Regions from separate parts of the Homo sapiens genome. Here all the other regions are linked to region 1. Evidence: promoter capture Hi-C in human tissues and cell types (Jung and others, 2019). All regions are on one chromosome and are shown on one strand. Each heading gives the region's core, a stretch centred on a gene start or on the middle of the fragment in contact. The rest is flanking DNA. Distances are from core to core; before and after follow the strand shown.

Region 1 (2,700 bases), core at 32-2,531:
TCTCGGCTCACTGCAAGCTCCACCTCCCGGGTTCAAGCGATTCTCCTGCCTCAGCCTCCCGAGTAGCTGGGACTACAGGCGCGCACCACCATGCCCGGCTAATTTTTTGCATTTTAGTAGAGACGGGGTTTCTCCATGTTGGTCAGGCTGGTCTCGAACTCCCGACCTCAGGTGATCCGCCCGCCTCGGCCTCCCAAAATGCTGAGATTACAGGCATGAGCCACCGTGCCCGGCCTTTTTTTTTTTTTTTTTTTGAGACAGAGTATCGCTCTGTCACCAGGCTGGAGTGCAGTGGCGCAATCTCAGCTCACTGCAACCTCCACCTCGCGGGTTCAAGCGATTCTCCTGCCTCAGCCTCCCGAGTAGCTGGGACTACAGGCGCGCAACACCATGCCCGGCTAATTTTTTGCATTTTAGTAGAGACAGGGTTTCACCATGTTGGCCAGGCTTGTCTCGAACTCCTCTTCTCTTGATCCACCCGCCTCGGCTTCCCAAAATGCTGGGATTATAGGCATGCGCCACCGCGCCCAGCCAGCCCCCACCCTTTTAGGAATCAGAGAGCATCTCCTTTCAGATCCGGTCCCTTCCCCGCTGGGAAAAGCAAATCTAAATTCAAGAACCGCCCAGACTTAGGCTCCTCCTCCCATATCCTCCCTTAATTTGTCTTGCCCCAGGCTCCGCCCATTCCAGAAAGCTTTAAATGTACCTAGAACCCGCCCCCACACCAAGAATCAGTCCTCGCCTCCTCAGGTTACCGTACCAGCATGTAACTACCAGAGTGCAAAATCCCCTTCCCAGGACAGAAACTCCCGCCCAGAATAGGTCCCGCCTTCCTCCAACTATTGGGCAACTCAAATAAAAGACATATCCCCTCCACTGGAAACGCTGCCCCCGTCTAGTACCGCGTTGGTTCTACAAGCCACGCCCCTCCGCGTCCCTAGAAATTCCGCCCGGTCCTCACCATGGCATTGACTTGCTGTACAGCGCGCCCGAAGTTGGTTGCTTGGAAGCCGGTGGTGCCGAAGGCCTCCAGCAGTGCGCGGTAATTCACACCGCGGTTGAAGTCGTAGCCCCGGACCTGGGTGCTTTCGGGCGGCAACGTCGAGCTGTGCTTTAGCACGGCGGCCAGCGCCCCCGCTGGCGCCTCCCGTTCCAGGGAACCTTCCATGCGCCTATAGCCGGCTCTCGAGTCAAAGCTGCCCCTAGGCCGGGCTTACGGCGGCCCAGAAACGCGTTAAACCCCGACGCGCGCGTCTCCGCAAGAGCACAGGAAGTAGGGAACGTGCTTTGGGCGAAAGACCGGAAGTTGGTTTATCACGTGACCATTTTTAGCCCCTGTAAACCAGGTCGCCGCCATTTTTGTGCGTGTGTTCCGTAATACGGAAGCCGCGAGGAGCCTTTAGGCCCTTTCTTTCTTTTTTTTTTTTTTTTTTTTTTTGAGACGGAGTCTCGCTCTGTCACCCAGGCTGGAGTGCAGTGGCGCGATCTCAGCTCACTGCCAGCTCCGCTTTCCGGGTTCACGCTGTTCTCCTGCCTCAGCCTCCCGAGTAGCTGGGACTACAGGCGCCCACCACCACGCCCGGCTAATTTTTTTGTATTTTTAGTAGAGACGGGGTTTCACCTGGTCTCGATCTCCTGACCTCGTGATTCGCCCGCCTCGGCCTCCCAAAGTGCTGGGATTACAGGCGTGACCCACCGCGCCCGGCGCCTTTAGGCCTTTTCTTCCTTTTTTTTTCTTTTTTTTTTTTTTGATACAGGGTTTCGCTCTTGTTGCCCAGGCTGGAGTGCAATTGCCCGATCTCAGCTCACCACAACCTCCACATTCCGGGTTCAAGCGATTCTCCTGCCTCAGCCTCCCGAGTAGCTGGGACTACTGGCATGCACCGCCATGCCCGGCTAATTTTGTATTTTTAGTAGAGGCGGGGTTTCTCCCTGTTGGTCAGGCTGGTCTCGAACTTCCGACCTCAGGTTATCCGCCCGCCTCAGCCTCCCAAAGTGCTGGGATTACAGGCGTGAGCCACTGCGCTTCGGCCTTTACTTGTTTTCATGTGTTCTCGACTTCCCATGAATGAAGATTCTTTTTTATTTTTATTATTTATTTATTTAATTTATTTTTGAGACAAGAGTTACACGCTCTTGTTACGCAGGCTGGAGTGCGGTGGTGCAATCTTGACTCATTGCAACCTCTGCCCCCCTGGTTCAAGCGATTCTCCTGCCTCAGCCTCCCGAGTTGCTGGGATTACAGACACCCACCACCAGGCCTGGCTAATTTTTTATTTTTAGTAGAGATGGCATTTCACCATGTTGGCGAGGCTGGTTCTGCCCTCAGGTGACCGCCCGCCTGGGCTTTCCAAAGTGCTGAGATTACAGGTGTGAGCCACCGTCCCCAGCCAAAATTCCTATTTTAATGCCACCTGCTGGAGACCCACTGCTTGGCCCGGCACTCGCCCATTCGTTTCTGTTCTGTCCCCTCGGGAGGGGAGGATGGTTTTGTTGTTGTTGTTGCTGTTTTGTTTGTTTGTTTGTTTGAGCTAGAGTCTTGCGCTGTCTCCCAGGCTGGAGTGCAGTGGCACGATCTCGGCTCACTGCAACCTCCGCCTCCCAGGTTCACGCCATTCTTCTGCCTCAGCCTCCCCAGTAACTGGGACTACAGGCGCCGGCCACCACGCCCGGCTAATATTTTGTATTTTTAGTAGAGAC
Region 2 (2,700 bases), core at 3-2,502, 540 kb before region 1:
GAGGCAGGAAAATAGGGTCTGGACGCAGGGAACATAAGGCCTATTCAAACTTCAGCTATGAAAGGAAATACCTACTCCATAGGGCGTAAGCCAAGTAAATGATTTTATAACCTTACTTCATCCTCTCCTTTTACATAGAGTATACCCCAAGTAACCAATGGAATCCTCCAGGGGGTATTTAAACTCCCAAAAATTCTGTAACGGGGCCTTTGAGCCCCTGTGCTCAGCCCCGCTTGCACACTGTGGAGTGTTAAATCCCTTCATTCCTTCCTTGCTTTGTGCGTTTTGTCCAATTCTTTGTTCAAGACGCCAAGAACCTGGACCCCCTCCACCGTTAACAAAATGCAATTCTTCTTAAAACTTTCTGGTACCAAAACCACAAATCATGACTGGGCGTTTCTCACTCATGAATCGCTGTTTGCTCAAACTCTTTAAATTTTTTTTTTTTTTTGAGATGGAATCTCGCTCTGTCCCCTAGGTTGGAGTGCAGTGGCGTGATCTCGGCTCACTGCAACCTTCGTCTCCTGGGGTCATGCGATTCTCCTGCTTCAGCCTCCTGAGTAGCGGGGACTACAGGCGCATGCCACCATGCCCGGCTAATTTTTTGTATTTTTAGTAGAGACGGGGTTTCACTGTGTTAGCCTGGATGGTCTCGATCTCCTGACTTCGTGATCCGCAAGCCTCGGCCTCCCAAAGTGCTGGGATTACAAGCATGGTCCACCGCGCCCGGCCCAAACTCTTTAACAGAAAAAAAAATCCGCAGGATTCCCCCATGACCCTCCCGTGGTCCCCGCAAAATCTGAAGAGACGCGGGGCTGCAGGCGCGGAGCTGCCCAGAGAGGGCTCCAGGGTCGGGGCCCACAGTCGCCCGCGCAGGAACAGAACAGGAGGACGCCCGGGGTCCCGGCTGCCGGCCCAGCCGCACCCTGCGGCCGAGGGGACGCAGGGACGAGCTGAGACAGAGGGATTCGGGTCCCAGATCCAGGAGGCGCGGCGAGGAGGCCCAGATCCCACCACAGCCGCTTCCGGCCGGTTCCACCCAGCCCCTCCCCCGTCTGGGGACTCCGGCCCCATACACTCACCATTTCCCGGCTTCTGGGTGTCCCGGTGTCCTCTCTAGGGCTCCCGTGAATAGTGCGGGTCACGGTGCAGGCGGCAGAGCGACAGAAGTTGTGGCAGAGGGACCCGGGGCCTCTCGGAGTAGGAAATCTGGTATCCCGACAACAACCTGCATAGCAACAAAAGTAGAAGCTGGAATGGGCCTCCTCCTTCCGGACGGACCGTTGGCCGGGCTCCGCCCCGGCGCTTCTGATTGGACAAGGTACAAGGCCCCGCCCCCTCAGAACTGAGTGACGGCAGAAGCCCTGGGTAACGAGCCCTGCAAAGCCGGACTGATCGGTTCTAGCCACAGCTTCTCTCTAAGGGACAACTCCTTCCCTGAGCCCTGGTCATTGGATATTTTCTTTTCAGCCAAATTTGCTCCTGATTTTTACACAGGGCACTATCTTCTTCCTCATTCAATGGGCTGTCAGTGCTTCTTCGTCCTGCACAGGGTTGTAAGTGTGTGCAGGGAATTCCAGACTGAGTGTCCAATGGAGCGATGTGCTGACCTCAGAGCAGGAAGGGGAGCCCAGATCAGGCCAGGCACGACTGCACCAAGAAGGAGAGGCAGTTGTCCTTCAGGGGCCCGGAATTAGGGATGAGACATGGCCAAGGCTTTCACACATCTCACCCCACCTCACAGTGTGGAAACTCTCCCTCCTTCCAGACCTTCATCTTCATCGGCAGAAAACTCTCACTTGGTGATTTTAAGCTTCTGACCTAAATAAACTGTCAACTGCATAAGCCCCTTCTCCAGGAGAGGTCCCAAACAGTTATTTCCCTGAACTTGATCTTTACGGATTTTCTTCAGATATGCAAATTACAGTCTGACCCCAGGGACTCTATGCATGTCAAACCCAAAACACTGCTCCCGAAAACCGCCCCAGATTCCAGATGTACAGCCGCAGAAAGGACAGAACTCCTGAAGTGCACCTGCACGTGGGTCTCCTGCTTTCCAGGGCGCTGCAGCATGTCAGAACCCACACTCTTTCTGGATCTGCTCTGAGCAGCTGCAAGCCACCTGCAGGGGAGGGCGGCTGCCCAGGAAGCACCCAGAACTCCACTTCACTCCTTGGCAGGATCCATACTAGCCTCAGCGTCCCGTCCCTGGCGTCGGTCTCTGCTGCCCCCTGCAGGTTATTCACCTGCTTCTCACATCATTCATCAGTTTCCATGAGACAAACATCCTCAATCCCACTGCGAGAATAACACACGAGCAAAGCTCTCCTCCAGTGTGTATGTATAAAGTCGAGGAGGAAGTGTCCAAGATTATTTAACTGCATGAAAGTGAGGCAGTAGTGGCTGGGCGCTGTGGCTCAAGCCTGTAATCCCAGCACTTTGGGAGGGCGAGGTGGCTGGATCACCTGAGATCAGGAGTTGGAGACCAGCGTGACCAACATGGTGAAATCCCGTCTCTACTAAAAATACAAAAATTAGCCGGGTGTGGTAGAGCCCACCTGTAATCCCAGCTACTCGGGAGACTGAGGCAGAAGAATCGTTTGTATCAAAGAGGCTGAGGTTGCAGAGAGCCGAGATTGCACCACTGCACTACAGCCTGGGCAATAGAGCGAGACTCTGTCTCAAAACAAAACAAAAAAA
Region 3 (2,700 bases), core at 3-2,502, 810 kb before region 1:
TGTAAGCAATGTGGGAAAGTCTTCAGATCTGTCAAGAACCTTTCAATTTATGAAAGGACACACACTGGAGAGAAACCCTATGAATGTAAGAAATGTGGAAAAGCGTTCCATAATTTCTCTTCTTTTCAAATACATGAAAGTTGCACAGAGGAGAGGCGCCCTAAGAATGTAAGCATTGTGGGAAAGCATTCATATCTGCCAAGATCGTTTGAATACATGCAAAACACACACTGGAGAGAAACCTATGAATGTAAGGAATGCAAACAAGCATTCAATTATTTTTCTTCCTTGCATATACATGAAAGGACTCATACGAGAGAGAATCCGTATGAATGTAAGGATTGTGGGAAAGCATTCAGCTTGCTTAATTGCTTTCATAGACATGTAAAGACACACCAGAAGGAAACCCTATGAATGTAAGCAATGTGGCAAAAGCTTTCACTTCTTCCAGTTCTTTTCAATATCATGAAAGGACTCACACTGGGGAGAAACCGTATCAATGTAAGCAATGTGGGAAAGCCGTCAGATCAGCCTCAAGACTTCAAATGCATGGAAGCACTCACACTTGGCAGAAACTCTATGAATGTAAGCAGTATGGGAAAGCCTTCAGATCGGCTAGGATTCTTTGAATACAAATAATGAATGTAAACAATTAACTGTTTATAATAACTGTATACTAACAAATGTTATTCTTTTTAAATAATTAAGAAGCTATAATAAAATATCCATTGGTGTCATGTATTAGATCAAGCTTATAATGTTACATTGTTATTATTTGGATATTGTGAATCAGCATTACCTGGATTAAATGCCAGGCATATTTTTCCTCATGTAAACTTTACTTTTCATGCTTATGTACTTTAATTTTTATTTCAACTGTAATTTTTCTTTTTTTTTCCTTTTGCTTTTTCTTTTTCTTTTTTTTTTTTTTTTTTTTTTAGAAAGAGCCTCACTCTGTTGCCCAGGCTGGAGTGCAGTGGTGTGATCTTGGCTCACTGCAATCTCTGCTTCCCAGGTTTGAACAATTCTCCTTCTTCAGCCTTTTGAGTAGCTGGGACTACAGGCATGCACCACTTCACCCAGCTAATTATGTGTATTATTTAGTAGAGACGGGGTTTCACCATATTGGCCAGGCTGGTCTCGAACTCTGGACCTTGTGATCCTCCTGCCTCGGCCTCTCAAAGTGCTGGATTTACAGACATGAGCCACTGCGCCCAGCCTCAACCCTAATTTTTCTTTCACTCATAATACCAAAAGTTATCTCATGTATCTCTGAGTACCTTCTTGCCCAAAACCAGCAGCGCCATACCTGCTGTCAGCAAGGGTGTAATATACCATAGTGATAAATATGACCAGAAGACATAAATGACTGTGGGATGTATGAGAATTACAAGTCACATTGGTAAGAAGATAAAAATTTTCGTCATGTTTATGATTTGAAATATGTTTACTTCTATCAGTTTTAGAAATACAGTTACAAAATGCCCTTGTTTTTGTCCTGGTCCATCATGATCACTGAGGAGCATCATCTCATATGCCTGATATGTAACATGTGTCTCTCCAACAGTAAAAGACTTGGCCTTGGCTGGGTGTGGTGGCTCACACCTGAAAACCCAGCACATTGGGAGGCTGAGGCAGGCAGATCACCTGAGGTCAGGAGTTCGAGAACACCCTGACCAATATGATGAAACCCTGTCTCATCTAAAAATACAAAACTTAGTCAGCCATGGTGGCATGCTTCTGTAATCCTAGCTAGTCAGGAGGCTGAGAAAGGAGAATCACTTGAATCTGGCAGGCAGAGGTTGCAGTGAGCCGAGATCCCATCATTGCACTCCAGCCTAGTCAACAAGAGCGAAACTCTTTCTGAAAAAACAAAAACAAAAACAAAAACAACTTGGCCTTGTGGTGAGGGGAGGTCAGCTATAGACTTCTGGACCTGTTTTTGCCTTACTTATTCTGTAAAGACTAAAACATTTTCTAAAATGTATGGGCACTGTTAACTAGAAGGTACCTTAGTTAAAATATATAAATTCATTTACGCTTTATAAAGCTATATTTTTTTCAAATTGCTTTACTGAGTCATAGGAGGCTAATAAATTTGTGTAAATTGTCTAAATAAAAGCCTTTCTTCCTCTGATAATGTGCTGTTGATGCTAACTTGTCAACAGCCTGCTTATCTCAGCAGTGTAAAGTTAACGGTAACATGGAAAAGTCACTTTTATATATAATGCAATGGCTAGAACAATTCTGTCACTTCCTGTAAGGTCCAGTGAAGCTGCTCTTCAGAAACAGTTATTTAAAATCCTTATAGTCTAAATCTAGGCACCACAGGATGCAGAATCAATCACTGACCAAGCCCTGTCTGTGTGTGGAGGTGACACACCCAGTCCCAGATAATGTATCCACATCAGTGAAGGGAGGAGTCATTGATTGTCGGATCACACAAAGTAACTCAGAACAGGGAAGACAGGGCAGTGAAACCTGGCCAGGCATGGTGGCTCACACCTGTAATCCCAGCACTTTGGGAGGCCGAGGCAGGTGGATCACTTGAGGTCAGCAGTTCAAGACCAGCCTGGCCAACATGGTGAAACCCTGTCTCGTCTAAAAATACAAAAAAATAGCTGGGCATCATGGTGTGTGCCTGTAATCCCAGCTACTCAGGAGGCTGAGGCAGGAGAATCGCTTGAGCTTGGGAGGTGG
Region 4 (2,700 bases), core at 107-2,606, 620 kb before region 1:
GCAAAATGCTTCTTTTAAGAATTTCTGGCCGGGCACGGTTGCTCACGCCTGTAATCCCAGCACTTTGGGAGGCCGAGACGGGCGGATCACGAGGTCAGGAGATCGAGACCATCGTGGCTAACACGGTGAAACCCCGTCTCTACTAAAAGCACAAAAAATTAGCCAGGCATGGTGGCAGGCGCCTGTGGTCCCAGCTACTCGGGAGGCTGAGACAGGAGAATGGCGTGAACCCGGGAGGCGGAGCTTGCGGTGAGCCGAGATCGCGTCACTCACTCCAGCCTGGGCAACAGAGCAAGACACCATCTCAAAAAAAAAAAAAAAAAAAAGCAAAACCAGAATTTCTTACTTATTTTGTTTTTTGGTCTCACTCTGTTGCCCAGGCTGGAGTGTACTGGTGCAATCACAGCTCACTGCAGCCCTCGACTCCTGGGCCAAAGTGATTCTCCTGCCCTGGCCTCCTAAAGTGCTGGTATTACAGGCCCCAGCCACCTTGCCTGGCCTCTTTCCAGACTTTTTTTGTTTTTGTTTTTTTTGAGACGGAGTTTCATTCTTGTTGCCCAGGCTGGAGTCCAGTGGCATGATCTCGGCTCACTGCAACCTCCGCCTCCCAGCTTCAAGTGATTCTCCTGCCTCAGCCTCCCACATAGCTAGGATTACAGGCGTCCGCCACCACGACTGGCTAATATTTTGTATTTTAGTAGAGATGTGGTTTCACCATGTTGGCCAGGCTGGTCTCGAACTCCCGACCACAGGTGATATACCCGCCTCGGCCTCCCAAAGTGCTGAAATTACAGGCGTGAGCCGCCGCGCCCGGCTTTCCAGACTTTTAAAAGTGTCAGACTCTCAATTTCTCCCGGATCAGGGAAAGGGAAAAGGGGAGAGGGGGCATGGCTTCACTAATGGAAATACTCCATAGACGCAAATTTCACCCCCCAGAAGACAGTTGTGCAAGGGCAAAGCTGCAGCCATTCGAAATTGCCAAATAAATATATTTTGGAATAAAATATTTTAATTGCTTTCACCTCTATTAAACATAGAGTCTGGAACTCCCTGCACACACTTATGACACTGTGCAGGACGAAGAAGCAGGGACAGACCATTGACAGAGCCACTTCTAGTAATTAAGACGAGCAAGTTTGGCCGAAATGCAAATTTTCAAAGAGCAGGGCGTAGAGAGGGAACTTGACCTTGGACTGTGGCTTGAAGCGGTCAGTCCTGCTCTGCTTGGCCCTGTTACCCAGGACTTCTGCTGTCACTCAGGATGCAGGGGGCGGGGCCTGGCGCTCCACCCAATCAGAGTCGCCGGGGTGGGGCCCGGCCAACTGTTTATCCGCGGGTCACATTGCCGTTCGCCTCAGTCTTTGGCCCCTCCCGCCGGGTGAGGTTGGCACCCCGTTTTTCCTGCTCTGAGAGGGACCGGTTGCCACCGCCATACTTCTGTCGCCCTGTCGTCTGTGTTGTGACTGCTTTGGACGTGGGAGTCACCTGAAAGCCAGGAAATGGTGAGTGTGAGCCCCCGCTGGGAGTCCCGAGACTTGGGGGAGGGTAGGCGGAGGCTGGTTGGAACTGGCTGGAACCGGCTGTGCCGGGACCCGGACCTCCCCGCGGCGACTCGAGGTCTGGGGCCCGAGCCCCGCTGGCGCAGCTCGGCCTTCGGTCCATTCGGCCGCCGGGTGCGGCTGGGCCGGCAGCCGGGACCCCTGGGCGCCCTGTCTCGTCGCCGCGCGGCGACTGCGGCCCCAGCCCGGGAGCCCTCTCTGGACAGCTCCGCGCCCGCAGCCCGGAGCCTCTCCATATTGTGCGGGGCCACGGGAGGGTCATGGGGGCAATCCCGCCTTGGGTGTGGGGCTCGTGCGGGAGGAGCTGCGCTGTGAGGCCCTCAGTGCCCCCTTTCTCCTGTTAAAACTTAAACAGGCCCGGTGCTGGGAATAGAGGCGTGAGCCACCGCGCCTGGCCTAGCGTGGAGAACTTGTGACAGCGGATAAATGTTTTCCCTGCTGTCTGTGGCTTAGAGCTTGGCAACTGCTGTCGTGTTTTTGTTCACATCATGATCAATGTGTACTAGATGCTTTGTTGTTGTAATCGCCTGAGGGGTTCTTCCTGCCTGTGCTGCAAAAAGAAAGACCAGGGCATTGCAGTAAAGAAAATGTTTGACACGAGATGGACCACGCAACGCCGAAGACGGAGACAGAGTTAGCACTCAAATCAGTCTCCCCGAAGGCTTATAGTTAGGGATTTTTCTTTAATATTTTTTTCTTACAATTTTTTTTTTTTTTTTTAAGACAGAGTCTCGCTCTTTTTTGCCCAGGCTGGAGTGCAATGACACGATCTGGGCTCAGTGCAACCTCTGCCTCCCGGATTCAAGCGATTCTTCTGCTCAGCTTCCCTAGTAGCTGGGGTTACAGGCACGCCACCACGCCCTGCTGATTTCTGTATTTTCAGTAAAGACGGGGTTTCACCGTGTTGGCCAAGGTGGTCTTGAACTCCTGACCTCAGGTGATCCGCCCGCATCGGCCTCCTAAAGGGCTAGGATTACAGGCGTGAGCCACCTGGCCCGGCTAAAAATTGTTTTTTAAACAAGGTCTCACTCTGTCGCCCAGGTTGGAGTGCATGGCGCGATCACGGCTCACTGCATCCTGGACCCACCTGAGCAGCAGCTCAGGTGATTGTGCTGCCTCACCCTCCCGAGTAGCTGGGACT

Evidence for each region. The method cuts DNA at HindIII sites, captures the fragments that hold promoters and counts their contacts. A contact is called where the count stands out against the background at its distance.
Region 2: the fragment with the promoter of ZNF20 here is called in contact with the fragment with the promoter of DHPS in region 1 in 1 of the 25 tissues and cell types used here (stomach).
Region 3: a contact is called between a fragment that was not itself captured here and the fragment with the promoter of DHPS in region 1, in 1 of the 25 tissues and cell types used here (dorsolateral prefrontal cortex).
Region 4: the fragment with the promoter of ZNF844 here is called in contact with the fragment with the promoter of DHPS in region 1 in 1 of the 25 tissues and cell types used here (spleen).

What each region holds. Positions count from the first base shown.
Region 1 is chr19:12,680,599-12,683,298 of GRCh38, forward strand. DHPS (deoxyhypusine synthase) reads right to left here and starts at 1,282. Exons shown (of 9, transcript NM_001930.4): 1 at 962-1,282. The coding sequence starts at 1,168. RefSeq lists cis regulatory regions at 513-1,013, 1,039-1,573 and enhancers at 933-1,456, 1,097-1,391, 1,457-1,979, 2,503-2,700. The HindIII fragment of the contact is 10,903 bases long and covers 1-2,700 here.
Region 2 is chr19:12,139,098-12,141,797 of GRCh38, forward strand. It overlaps ZNF20 (zinc finger protein 20), which reads right to left and starts at 1,253. Exons shown (of 4, transcript NM_021143.4): 1 at 1,083-1,253. The coding sequence starts at 1,085. It overlaps ZNF625-ZNF20 (ZNF625-ZNF20 readthrough (NMD candidate)), which reads right to left. Exons shown (of 8, transcript NR_037802.1): 5 at 1,083-1,228. RefSeq lists a silencer at 830-1,039. The HindIII fragment of the contact is 9,607 bases long and covers 1-2,700 here.
Region 3 is chr19:11,868,737-11,871,436 of GRCh38, forward strand. ZNF439 (zinc finger protein 439) reads left to right here. Exons shown (of 4, transcript NM_001348719.2): 4 at 1-750. Among named protein-coding and RNA genes, the nearest start is that of ZNF69, 18 kb to the right of the region's middle. The HindIII fragment of the contact is 4,163 bases long and covers 1-2,700 here.
Region 4 is chr19:12,063,375-12,066,074 of GRCh38, forward strand. It overlaps ZNF844 (zinc finger protein 844), which reads left to right and starts at 1,357. Exons shown (of 4, transcript NM_001136501.3): 1 at 1,357-1,502. The coding sequence starts at 1,500. RefSeq lists an enhancer at 1,442-1,531 and a silencer at 1,622-1,801. The HindIII fragment of the contact is 18,413 bases long and covers 1-2,700 here.